4 separate regions of the Homo sapiens genome follow, and all the other regions are linked to region 1. The links are contacts of gene promoters, found by promoter capture Hi-C in human tissues and cell types (Jung and others, 2019). All regions are on one chromosome and are shown on one strand. Each heading gives the region's core, a stretch centred on a gene start or on the middle of the fragment in contact. The rest is flanking DNA. Distances are from core to core; before and after follow the strand shown. Region 1 holds the start of LRP6 (LDL receptor related protein 6). Region 2 has its middle 18 kb from the start of LINC01252. Region 3 has its middle 28 kb from the start of LINC01252. Region 4 overlaps ETV6 (ETS variant transcription factor 6).

Evidence for each region. Contacts are between HindIII fragments. The study calls those that stand out against the background at their distance.
Region 2: a fragment that was not itself captured here is called in contact with the fragment with the promoter of LRP6 in region 1 in 1 of the 25 tissues and cell types used here (heart left ventricle).
Region 3: a fragment that was not itself captured here is called in contact with the fragment with the promoter of LRP6 in region 1 in 4 of the 25 tissues and cell types used here (dorsolateral prefrontal cortex, heart left ventricle, liver and 1 more).
Region 4: a fragment that was not itself captured here is called in contact with the fragment with the promoter of LRP6 in region 1 in 3 of the 25 tissues and cell types used here (aorta, hippocampus and mesenchymal stem cells).

The regions. Positions count from the first base shown.
Region 1 is chr12:12,265,649-12,268,373 of GRCh38, forward strand. It overlaps LRP6 (LDL receptor related protein 6), which reads right to left and starts at 1,396. Exons shown (of 23, transcript NM_002336.3): 1 at 1,033-1,396. The coding sequence starts at 1,087. RefSeq lists a silencer at 1,087-1,396 and enhancers at 1,403-2,039, 1,577-1,626. The HindIII fragment of the contact is 18,079 bases long and covers 1-2,725 here.
Region 2 is chr12:11,528,973-11,531,697 of GRCh38, forward strand. No RefSeq gene overlaps it. Among named protein-coding and RNA genes, the nearest start is that of LINC01252, 18 kb to the right of the region's middle. The HindIII fragment of the contact is 3,263 bases long and covers 1-2,725 here.
Region 3 is chr12:11,575,005-11,577,729 of GRCh38, forward strand. No RefSeq gene overlaps it. Among named protein-coding and RNA genes, the nearest start is that of LINC01252, 28 kb to the left of the region's middle. The HindIII fragment of the contact is 3,225 bases long and covers 1-2,725 here.
Region 4 is chr12:11,664,602-11,667,326 of GRCh38, forward strand. The region is part of intron 1 of ETV6 (ETS variant transcription factor 6); the gene reads left to right. Among named protein-coding and RNA genes, the nearest start is that of ETV6, 16 kb to the left of the region's middle. RefSeq lists enhancers at 1,726-2,359, 2,360-2,725. The HindIII fragment of the contact is 4,639 bases long and covers 1-2,725 here.

The DNA of each region.
Region 1 (2,725 bases), core at 146-2,645:
CCGTATCGAGCAGTACTTAAATTCCTCTGCTGGTAAATGCTCCACAGCCATCACAGCCATCTCAAGTTCAACACTAAATAGTTTGAGAAGAGCTGCCGACGGGCCAGTCAAAAATCTTTGTGAACTGTCACAAAAGTCACAGAGCATGTGTCAGCTTTGCAGTCCAATTCAAAACATCATAGTGCCATCGAATTCAAGCGATTCCCAGAGCAAATTATCTCGAACAGCCTATGCAATTTACCAAAGTGCCAAGCAGTCCCCAGGGGTGCAGAGCAAATTATCATTTTGGTCCCAGGACCGGCTCCTCTTCACACGAGGATGAATTTCCCTACTTAGTGCCAACTGTACACTTGCATACTCCGAAAATAGGGGCAAGCCGTGAATACCAGAGGTTACAAGGGCAATGTTTTATTTTATTATGGGCTGAAGCTCAGAAGGCTCCCAATGCTGAAACGCTCGACCTATAACCCCGGAGTCACTTTCCAACTGCGCTCTCACCCAGGGTCATTATATCCCAAACGGAAGCCAATCATTACCTGTAACAAGGCCTGGAAAAAATAGCAAGAGGGCTTTAAAAGTTCACCTAAGAAACACCGAAACGGGGTGGGGAGTGGGTGGCGGGGCTTCGATGGATAAGGCCAACCTTAAAGCATCTCGGACTCAAACATTTTAAAAGCCAAAATACGTACAAAGACCCTTTTCCCTGGAAGACCCCAGGCAGAGAGAGGCACACAGACACTCAGTCATCCCGACAGCATGGGGTGCCAAGGGTTCCCTAAGACCAGCAGCCGGGATCGAAGCTCCGATGTGTCCGGGGAAGGTCTGGGAAGCCAGGCCAGGTCCGCATTGTGGCCGGGCGGTGCACGCAGCCCCTGCTCCCGGGCCCCTTTCTCTCCCCCTCCCCACGACCAGGCCTCTCCCCGCTCCTCTCCCCTTCTCCCTTCCTCCGTCCCTCCCCTCCCCCTAGACACATACAACAAGGCCACCTCCCCCCGAACCCCACCAACTTTCCAGTGCCCCCACTCTTCCCACCTCTCAGGAGCACACAGAAGCTGCAGGCCAGGAGGCTCCTCAGGACGGCCCCCATCTTCCCTTCTCGCGTTCTCTTCTCTCACCGGCGAGGGGTGGCCAGAAGTGGGGGAGGCGAGGAGCCGGGGCGGCCGCCGCAGCGGCAGGGCTGCACGCTCATACTTCCCAGCTTCCCAGCGAGAGAAGAAAGAAAGGGGCACGTCAAGGTTCCGCGCGCGCCGCCGCCGCCCTCTCTACCGCGCCGCTCGGCCCCGGGCTCGCGCGACGCCAGCGTCTGCTTCCATCCCGCCGCCTCCTCCCCCGGCGCCCCGCTTCCCCCGCGCAGCTCCTCATTCAGCCTCTGCCTCGCGCAGCGGCGCAGGGATACGGTCGGCACCGCCTCCTAGGGTCGCCGCGACCGTGTCCCTGCGCGCAACGAGCCCCTTCTCCCGGTACTGCCTCCTGTACGGCCAGGGAAGGGAGTCGGCAACCGCACGCACAGCCTCTGCCTGAGACCCTGGGAGAGGTTCTGGGCTAGCAGAGGCGAACTGGGAGGGAAAGCCTCCTCCCGGTGGCGCATTCCAGCGGGATTCTTTCCCGGACCGGCCGCTTCGGCCCTCCCCGCGGAGGGCGTGAGGCGGCGTTGAACAACATTGGAGCCGGCGTGGTCGGGACTACTTTCTGCGGCTCGGCCGGGCAGCCGTCTGCCCCGCTCTTTGTGCGGCCGCCGCCGGCAGGGCCAGGTGGGGCTCCGGTCTCGCGCCCCCAGCCACCTGAGACTGCCCAGCCGCGGTGCACGCGCGGGGAGCCACGGCGGATCCCGTTGCGGGGTGATGAGCTCCGTCTTCGGGGTTGGAAATCGGTTTCAGCATCCTTTTTTTGGGAGGGCGGAATTTTTGAACGCTGTTTACACCGGCTTTCAGCGTGGATCTGGTGAACGATATTAAAACGCCAATTCAAAACTGAGATTGTCATTTTTCTCCCGCCTTCCCAGAAATACAAACTGCCCCCAGAATTAAGCCCGACCAGCTAAAGATTTCTAAACTGGCAGATAAAATTCCAAGATAAATGCCTCAAAACCTAAGAGCAAAGGGACAATTGGACAAGACTATTTAGGATTTTACAAGTTGCATATAATAACGAATGTTTGGCATGCTTCGATTATCAATTCTCAGCTTGAGAAGGAAAAGATTCCCTAGAATCTCAGACTGTGCACAGCCTCTGCTACTCCCAGTGCATTGGGCATTCAGGAGTAATGGCCCAGACGCCCCCTGAAATCACCTGCCAGGCTTTCGTCTGGGCAGAGGCGCTCCAACAGTTAACCCTAATGGAGCCATCAGATGCATCCTGCCCAGCTGTCACACGCCCTTACCTGGAGGCAGATGGGCAAGAAAGTGGAGCTGCTACCACAATGTTAACAAGTACCTCAGTGACATTGGAGTTCACTAGTGCTTGAACACAAGTTATCATATTTGACACTCAAAACTACCCTGGGGAAAGGCAGGTTTTGTTACTTATTCTTTATTGCACAGAGGAGCAAAATGAGAACCTGAGAGGTTAATGACTTACCCAGGGCCACTCAAGTAATGAATAGCAGTACCTCAGCCCAATCCAGGTCTCTGACTTAAGCCACTCCGCTCCTTCCAAGAAATGCGCGCTGAACCAAAGGTGCTGCAGGTTTGTAAGTAGATGGACAGCAGAAACAGCCAAATCACTT
Region 2 (2,725 bases), core at 84-2,583, 740 kb before region 1:
GTATTTTTGAAGCACTGTTTTTGATGCATACACATTTAGAATTGTTATGACTTTCTGCTGGATTGAGTTTTTCATCACTATGAAATGTTGGGTTTTGTCTGTACTAAGTCTCTTTGCTCTGAAGTCTATTTTATTGGAAAATATAGCCACTCCTAACTACTTTCTTTAAATTAATTTTTCATGGTAATTTTTTTCATCCTTTCACTTTCAACCTACCTAGGTTATTGAATCTGAAATGAGCTCCTTGTACTCAATATATAGTTGAAGTGTGAGTGTGTGTGTGTCTCTGTGTGTGCTTTAACCTACTCCTCCCATCTCTGTCTTCGTGTTTGTGTATTTAGAGCATTTACATTTAAGGTAATCATCGATATGTTCGAGCTTAAGCCTCCCATTTTGTCATTTGTTTTCTGCTTGTTTCCTTGGGTTTTCATTCTGGTTTCTCTTTTCTTGTCTTCCTTTGAGTTACTTGAGTAAACTTCAGCATTTCATTTTGGTTTATTGATAATCTTTTTGAGTGTGTTTCTTTGTACCATTTTTATTTTGATTGCACTGGATATTTCAAGCATACATATGTGACTTATTGCAGTCTGCTGGTATCAGTGTTTTGCTATTTTAAGTGAAATGTAGGAATCTTTACCTTCCATGAGGGGAACATCACACACCGGGGACTGTTGTGGGGTGGGGAGAAGGGGGAGGGATAGCATTAGGAGATATAGCTAATGCTAAATGACGAGTTAATGGGTGCAGCACACCAACATGGCACATGTATACATATGTAACAAACCTGCCTGTTTTGCACATGTACCCTAAAACTTAAAGTATAATAATAATAATAAAAAGACAAGTAAATAGCAAATACCAATTGATTGAATGTCTGTAAATAAATAAATAAGCACATTAAAAAAAAAAGAAACCTTTACCTTCCATGATTTTTTATATTACTGTCTTGAGCATCAGATAATGTTATAATTTTGGCTTTGACCTTCAAATATTTTTATAAACCTCATGAGAAAAAGGATGCCCTACCCTTTGTACCCATATATCTGCTTTCTATGCTGTTCTTTATTTCTTTCTTTCTTTCTCTTTCTCTTTCTTTCTCTCTCTCTCTTTCTTTTCTTTCTTTCCTTAAAGTAGTTTTTTCCAATTCTGTGAAGAAAGTCATTGGTAGCTTGATGGGGATAGCATTGAATCTATAAATTGCCTTGGGAAGTATGGCCATTTTCACGATATTGATTCTTCTTATCCATGAGCATGGAATGTTCTTCCATTTGCTTGTGTCCTCTCTTATTTCGTTGAGCAGTGGTTTGTAGTTCTCCTTGAAGAGGTCCTTCACATCCCTTGTAAGTTGGATTCCTAGGTATTTTATTCTCTTTGAAGCAATTGTGAATGGGAGTTCACTCATGATTTGGCTTTCTGTTTGTCTGTTATTGGTGTATAAGAATGCTTGTGATTTTTGCACATTGATTTTGTATCCTGAGACTTTGCTGAAGTTGCTTATCAGCTTAAGGAGATTTTGGGCTGAGAAGATGGGGTTTTCTAGATATACAATCATGTCATCTGCAAACAGGGACAATTTGACTTCCTCTTTTCCTAACTGAATACCCTTTACTTCTTTCTCCTGTATGATTGCCCTGGCCAGAACTTCCAACACTATGTTGAATAGGAGCGGTGAGAGAGGGCATCCCTGTCTTGTGCCAGTTTTCAAAGGGAATGCTTCCAGTTTTTGCCCCTTCAGTATGATATTGGCTGTGGGTTTGTCATAAGTAGCTCTTATTATTTTGAGATACTTCGCATCAATACCTAATTTGTTGAGAGTTTTTAGCATGAAGAGCTGTTGAATTTTGTCAAAGGCCTTTTCTGCATCTATTGAGATAATCATGTGGTTTTTGTCTTTGGTTCTTTTTATATGTTGGATTACATTTATTGATTTGCGTATATTGAACCAGCCTTGCATCCCAGGGATGAAGCCCACTTGATCATGGTGGATAAGCTTTTTGATGTGCTGCTGGATTCAGTTTGCCAGTATTTTATTGAGGATTTTTGCATCGATGTTCATCAGGGATATTGGTCTAAAATTCTCTTTCTTTGTTGTGTCTCTGCCAGGCTTTGGTATCAGGATGATGCTGGCCTCATAACATGAGTTAGGGAGGATTCCCTCTTTTTCTGTTGATTGGAATAGTTTCAGAAGGAATGGTACCAGCTCCTCCTTGTAACTCTGGTAGAATTTGGCTGTGAATCCATCTGGTCCTGGACTTTTTTCTGTTGGTAAGCTATTAATTATTGCCTCAATTTCAGAGCCTGTTATTAGTCTAGTCAGGGATTCAACTTCTTCCTGGTTTAGTCTTGGGAGGGTGTATGTGTCCAGGAATTTATCCATTTCTTCTAGATTTTCTAGTTTATTTGCATAGAGGTGTTTATAGTATTCTCTGATGGTAGTTTGTATTTCTGTGGGATCAGTAGTGATATCCCCTTTATCATTTTTTATTGTGTCTATTTGATTCTTCTCTCTTTTCTTCTTTATTAGTCTTGCTAGCAGTCTATCAGTTCTGTTGATCTTTTCAAACAACCAGCTCCTGGATTCATTGATTTTTTGAAGGGTTTTTTTGTGTTTCTGTCTCCTTCAGTTCTGCTCTGATCTTAGCTATTTCTTGCCTTCTGCTAGCTTTTGTATGTGTTTGCTCTTGCTTCTCTAGTTCTTTTAATTGTGATGTTAGGGTGTCAATTT
Region 3 (2,725 bases), core at 151-2,650, 690 kb before region 1:
TATTTCTGTATCTACTTTAAATGTGTTAATACTATAGAGTTGCAGAAATTTGAAGTAATTTTAAATTGCTCTTATGGACAAAACCCTAAGCCTCCACTACTTTGCAATGATGGAAAAGGCCACAGAGCACTTTGAAAAATCATACTTTTATCCCCATTATCTCAGCCAAATGTGAACTGTGGCAAACATCATGTACCTGCAAGCTTCTCTCCACCTATAAGGCCCCTGTCTTCTTCACATGCTACCCTTTCTACCTGGGTGTGAGCATCAATGGTCTGGAGTCATAACTTCTGGGAGCAGGTCTGCTTTTGATCAACTATACCACTCACAAGATTTTATGTGCTTGGTTCTCTTCAACTATGCAAATAGTAGATCAACTAACAACTGTTCCAGCCATAAAGATGAAATCCTCTTCATTCTTACATTCTCTTATAATTGACAAAGTATTGAAATACTTAGTGATGCTCTACTGCTACTACAATAGCTAGATAGACCTTTTGTTCCATCATTAGTTGATTCCCCTCCATTCTGGGCCTGTTTTCATTAAGTTTTCCTTATATAATATGAGGAAACTGTGAAGCATGATTTCTCAATCTCATTATCAGCACTCTTGACATCTGGGGCTGTAAAATTCTTTGTTATGTAGGGCTGCCCTGTGCATCATAGCATCTCTGATCTCTGCCCACTAGATGCCAGTACCACTCCCCCAACTTCTAGTGTGACAACCAAAAATGTCTCCAGACATTGCCAAATGTCCCCAGGGAGTGAGGGGTAAAATTACCCTCAAACCCCAAATAAAAACCACTGTTGTAAAGAAAACTTAAATGTTATAATGTATATAAAGGGGACTCACAAACTATGCAGTTTAGGAATTATTATATTTTTAATGTTTTTTGTCAATGTGTTGTAGAAGAATATGAGATGAAATATAGGCAAAGAGTGAAAGGTGGTCCTTAGAGTGTATTCCAGTTTACTGTCTGTATGGAAGTTGCCTTATGAGAAAAGGCAGACAATCTCTAAGGATGCCTTAAAAGAGGTTTCTGTAGCTAGTCATGTAACAGTTAAGTTGGCCATGGTACCCACATCATGATTACCTTACAGCTTATTCCTTGGGCAGGGGACTAGCCCCTTTGCTGCTTGCTATAAGAGGTGCTGAGCCTTTAACCCTAGGTTCCCCGCATGTGGCACAACCCACTGTGTGAGTAGCTGCCCATTACCACCCCATGGGACTTTGGGACAGGAGAACCAGAATTACCATGCTGATGTTCCCACTGTGTGCTGTGCTGTCTTGCTTGAGTCTCTTTGTCTATTTTCACACCTCCAAAGTGGCAGCAAGCCAACCTGGTTACTGGCTTAGTCATCTCCTTGGCCTTCTTGTTACTCTTCACCATTCTCTATGAGGGAGGAGTTTCCCCTGATACTGGGTTAAGTTACTTCACTTCCCTTTGTCTTTGTTTCCACATTTTAAAATGGGGATAATAATGATAGTACTTAAATCTTAGTGTTGTTGTGAGGATCATTCAAGCTAATGTAATAGCCTGATAGGTAATTATGTCCAAACTAATGCCATGTTGCTTAGTTCTATTTTCTCCTATATGTCCCTGTGTTAGTCTGTTCCCACATTACTGTAAAGAAATACCTGAGACAGGGCAACTTATAAAGAAAAGAGGTTTAATTGGCTCATGGGTTTGCAGACTGTACAGGAAGCATAGCAGCTTCTGGTTCTGGGGAGGCCTCAGGAAGCTTCCAATCATAGTGGAAGGCAAAAGGGAGTAGGAGTCTCACATGGCAGGAGCAGGAGCAAGAGAGAGTAAGATGGGAGGTTTTACACTTAAATGATCTGATCTCATGAGAACTCACTCACTCACTATTGTGAGGACAGTACTAAGAGGGATGGTGCTACACCATTCGTGAGAAATCCACCTCCACAATCCTATCACTTCCCACCAGTCCCACCTCCAACATTGGGGATTACAATTTGATATGAGATTTGGGTGGGGACAAATATCCAAACTATATCAGTTCCTACCTTCTTAGATTGCCTACTAAACTCCAAATCCTACCTTTCTTTCACAGTGAAATTTACTTTTCTTTGTCATAGACTACATTTCCATTTCACAGTGCACATCATCTCACCATCTTTCTTGCTTTCTCTCTCCCTCAGTCTCCTCTACTCATTAACCTCCATCCTCCTTTGCCGGACAGATTCCTCCCTTTGTCTTTGGTGCAGTTGTTTGCAGACCAAATTTGTTGTAACACGCCCCTAGTATTTCAGTTTTTACTTCAAGGTGATTAAAAGATTTTCATCTAGTCAAGTCCCTCCTACCAATGAAATTCTTGTTAATAAAAGTTTCTTTATCACCTCACATAATTCATTGTTCAATGAATATTTTTGTTCCTATAGTGGGTTAATATTTTGATATTCAACTATGTGATTTTTCTTAATTCCTCTTACTTATCTTTTCTTTCCCCACCATTCAAGGAGTGTTAGGGTTTTAGAAATACAGATACAAAGATGATACAGAGAGAACAATTAAATCTTTAACCTGAAGCTCTTGAGAATAATTCTGTAAAGTCCATAGCAGAGAAAAAGGTCTTAAAAGTCATTGCTTTCCATTATTAGAGCCAGAGACTTAGAGAAACATGTTATTTAAATCCCCAAAGTCAGACTTTAAATATCCAAAGCCAGTCCCCCAGAGGGCCAAGTACATAATATTTATACTAA
Region 4 (2,725 bases), core at 73-2,572, 600 kb before region 1:
GACTAAGGTTAGCGAACGGTGACCCTTGTTTGGTCCACGATGCACTAACAGACTCTTCCCCTTGTTGCTTCTTACTGCTACTGGAATGGAAGCTTTGGGAGGGCAGGTGTGCCATCTTTTCCAGCCTGCCAGGCAGTCTGGTGCATACTCGTCTTTCTCCTCCATACCGGCTGTCACTGCCTTCCTTCTGGCCCCAGACCTTTCAGTTGTCTCCTCTCTGATCTTCCTTCCTCCATTTTGTCCCCACCCCCAACACAACTTGGAATGATTCTTTGCAGATAAAAATGTGATCTTGTTACTCTCTGTCTCACACCACAGTACCACAGTGTAGCATGAACCACAGCTTCTTGTCACCTGCAAGGCCCTTTACTGCCTACCTTTCTAGTATCATCTCCACATTATGTTCCAACCACATAATGAACTTTTTTCTCAGGAGGACATGGTCTCGCTCTGTGGCCAAGGCTAGAGTAATCTCAGCTCACTGCAACCACTGCCTTCTGGGCTCAGGTGATTCTCCCATCTCAGCCTCCCGAGTAGCTGACACCACAGGCACGTACCACCACACTAGGCTAATTTTTGTATTTTTAGTAGAGACAGGGTTTCACCAGGCTGGTCTCAAACTCCTGGGCTCAAGTGATCCGCCCAACTCGGCCTCCCAAAGTGCTGGGATTATAGGCATGAGCCACTATGCCCATCCCATGTAACAAACATTTATGCCTGGAATCTTCCCTCGATCTTCTTTCTGCCTGGCAGCCAATTTGTCATTGGAAGTCCATTTCTCAAGCCTCCCTGTTGCTGCTGGGCACAGTGTTCCCCCAGCTTATTGAACTTGCTTCTGTTATTGGCAACAATCCAGTTATCCTTGAATTATCATCCACACTAGACTGAAAGCCTGCTGAGGACAGGAGTCTGATGGGTTCATTTTTATATTTCCAGTGTCCAGCTCAAGGTCTGGCACAGAGGACAGCCAATGGCTATTAATTGAATAGAATTTCTTAATCAGTAGGTATTTATTAAGCTTCTGTTACGGACTTAATTGGTGCCAGGCTCTTTGATATGTAAGATAAAGACCTCACACAGTTGACATCCTGAGCAAATACTCTGTGAGGGTTGAGGAAAGAAGAAAGGTAGAGACCTGTGTTTTGAAACATATCAGGACTCCATGTCAGGGCGAACATACTGCCACCTCCCATACCTAAGGGGCTCCTGTGAGGCATAAGTACTGACATGTACACACAGGGCACTCACAAATGCTCTCCTTCTCAGTTGCCTACTTTCTAGAGGGGAATATAGATAGCTGGAGAAGAAGCTTGAGAACCTTCAGGCTGGATGTGCCAGAAACAGCAGAGACAGCCCAAGATAAATGAATGTATTAACTGATCATCCTTTTTTTTGATGTGGCTCAGGATGCCTCTTGGGTCAGGGAGAGAGAACCAGTGGCTGTTTGTTGTAGCTGTGTGCGGTCTTGGCCATAGCTGGCTGTGGTATCTGGGACCCAGTGGCAGGTCACCACCGTATGGGGCTGCCAGTTGCTCCCCCACCCCATTCCTCTAAGAGCTAGTAGGGAGAGAGAACCCGGAAGAGCAGCACGGCTTGCTGAAACTTCTCTGAGGTCTGTGATTGGCCTTTCCATGTCAAGGGAAGAATCCCTCTCTTACTTGAGTCAGCTCTTTCCAGTCTTCTCTTGTACAGCCCATGTTCTCTCCTACCCTATCTGAGATGAAGATCTCTCTGGAGCTCTCATTTTACTCCTAATGGGTTGCCTGGAGGGACTAAACCAGTGAGAATGACTGGGCATACTATGGGACTAGAAAAACAACTCAAAGTTATGTCTTACGGATGGTAGGACAGCCTCAATATTGCTGTTTACAGTGGATAGCCCAGTGACATTTATTTAAAGAGGGCAGTCTTAAGAGAGTGTGTTAGGGTTATGAATCTGATTAAGTGTGATCTGATAAGTGGGAAATGGACCACTTGGGAGAAATCAGGTTACTTTCAGATATAAGCAGACCAAACTGGGCCTTCCACACAAGCCTGAATAGCTCGTTTTCTCCCTATTTCTGTTGCCATTGAGGTACAGCTGGGATTCAGGGCATTAGGATATGTGAAAACTTTTAGCTTCCTGAACCCAACCAGACCCCAGCAAGAGTCCTTTTACAGTTTCCCCGAAACCGTCACAAGTTTTCCTGACCGCCTGCTGGGGGCTTTCTGTTGCAGACCTACGCGGCAGCTGCCTGCCAGCCCTGCCAGATTTGACTTCATCTTGGCTGCCGGTGGGTCAGTCTCCACGAGGCTTCTCTTGGCCTGTCTGTCCACTCAGGGCATTTAAGGGTCCTCTTGCTTTGCTCACATGGGCTCCTCGAGGGCTTGTGCAGTAGGTTGAGAGTTGTTACGGGTGCTGATCTGGACCACTTAGGGAGCAGAAAGCATAGGTCTGTATATGAATGTGAAAATACACATTTAAGAAGCTGCTCAGGTAGGGGCAGCCACGGAAGTTGTGCTCCCTCTTAAACACTCAGCGTACACACCTCATCCTCAGACAATGTGCTGCTTACATTTCCAGTGTCCAGCACGGTGCCTGGCACAGAGGAAGGCCGATGGATAGTAGTTGAACAGAATTTTTTTAATCATCAGGTCTTTATTAAGCTTCTATTATGGACTTCAAGTTTCCTCCATGAATGCTACCAGAACCCTTGCTCAATGTCTTCACTGTTGAGGCTGTTGA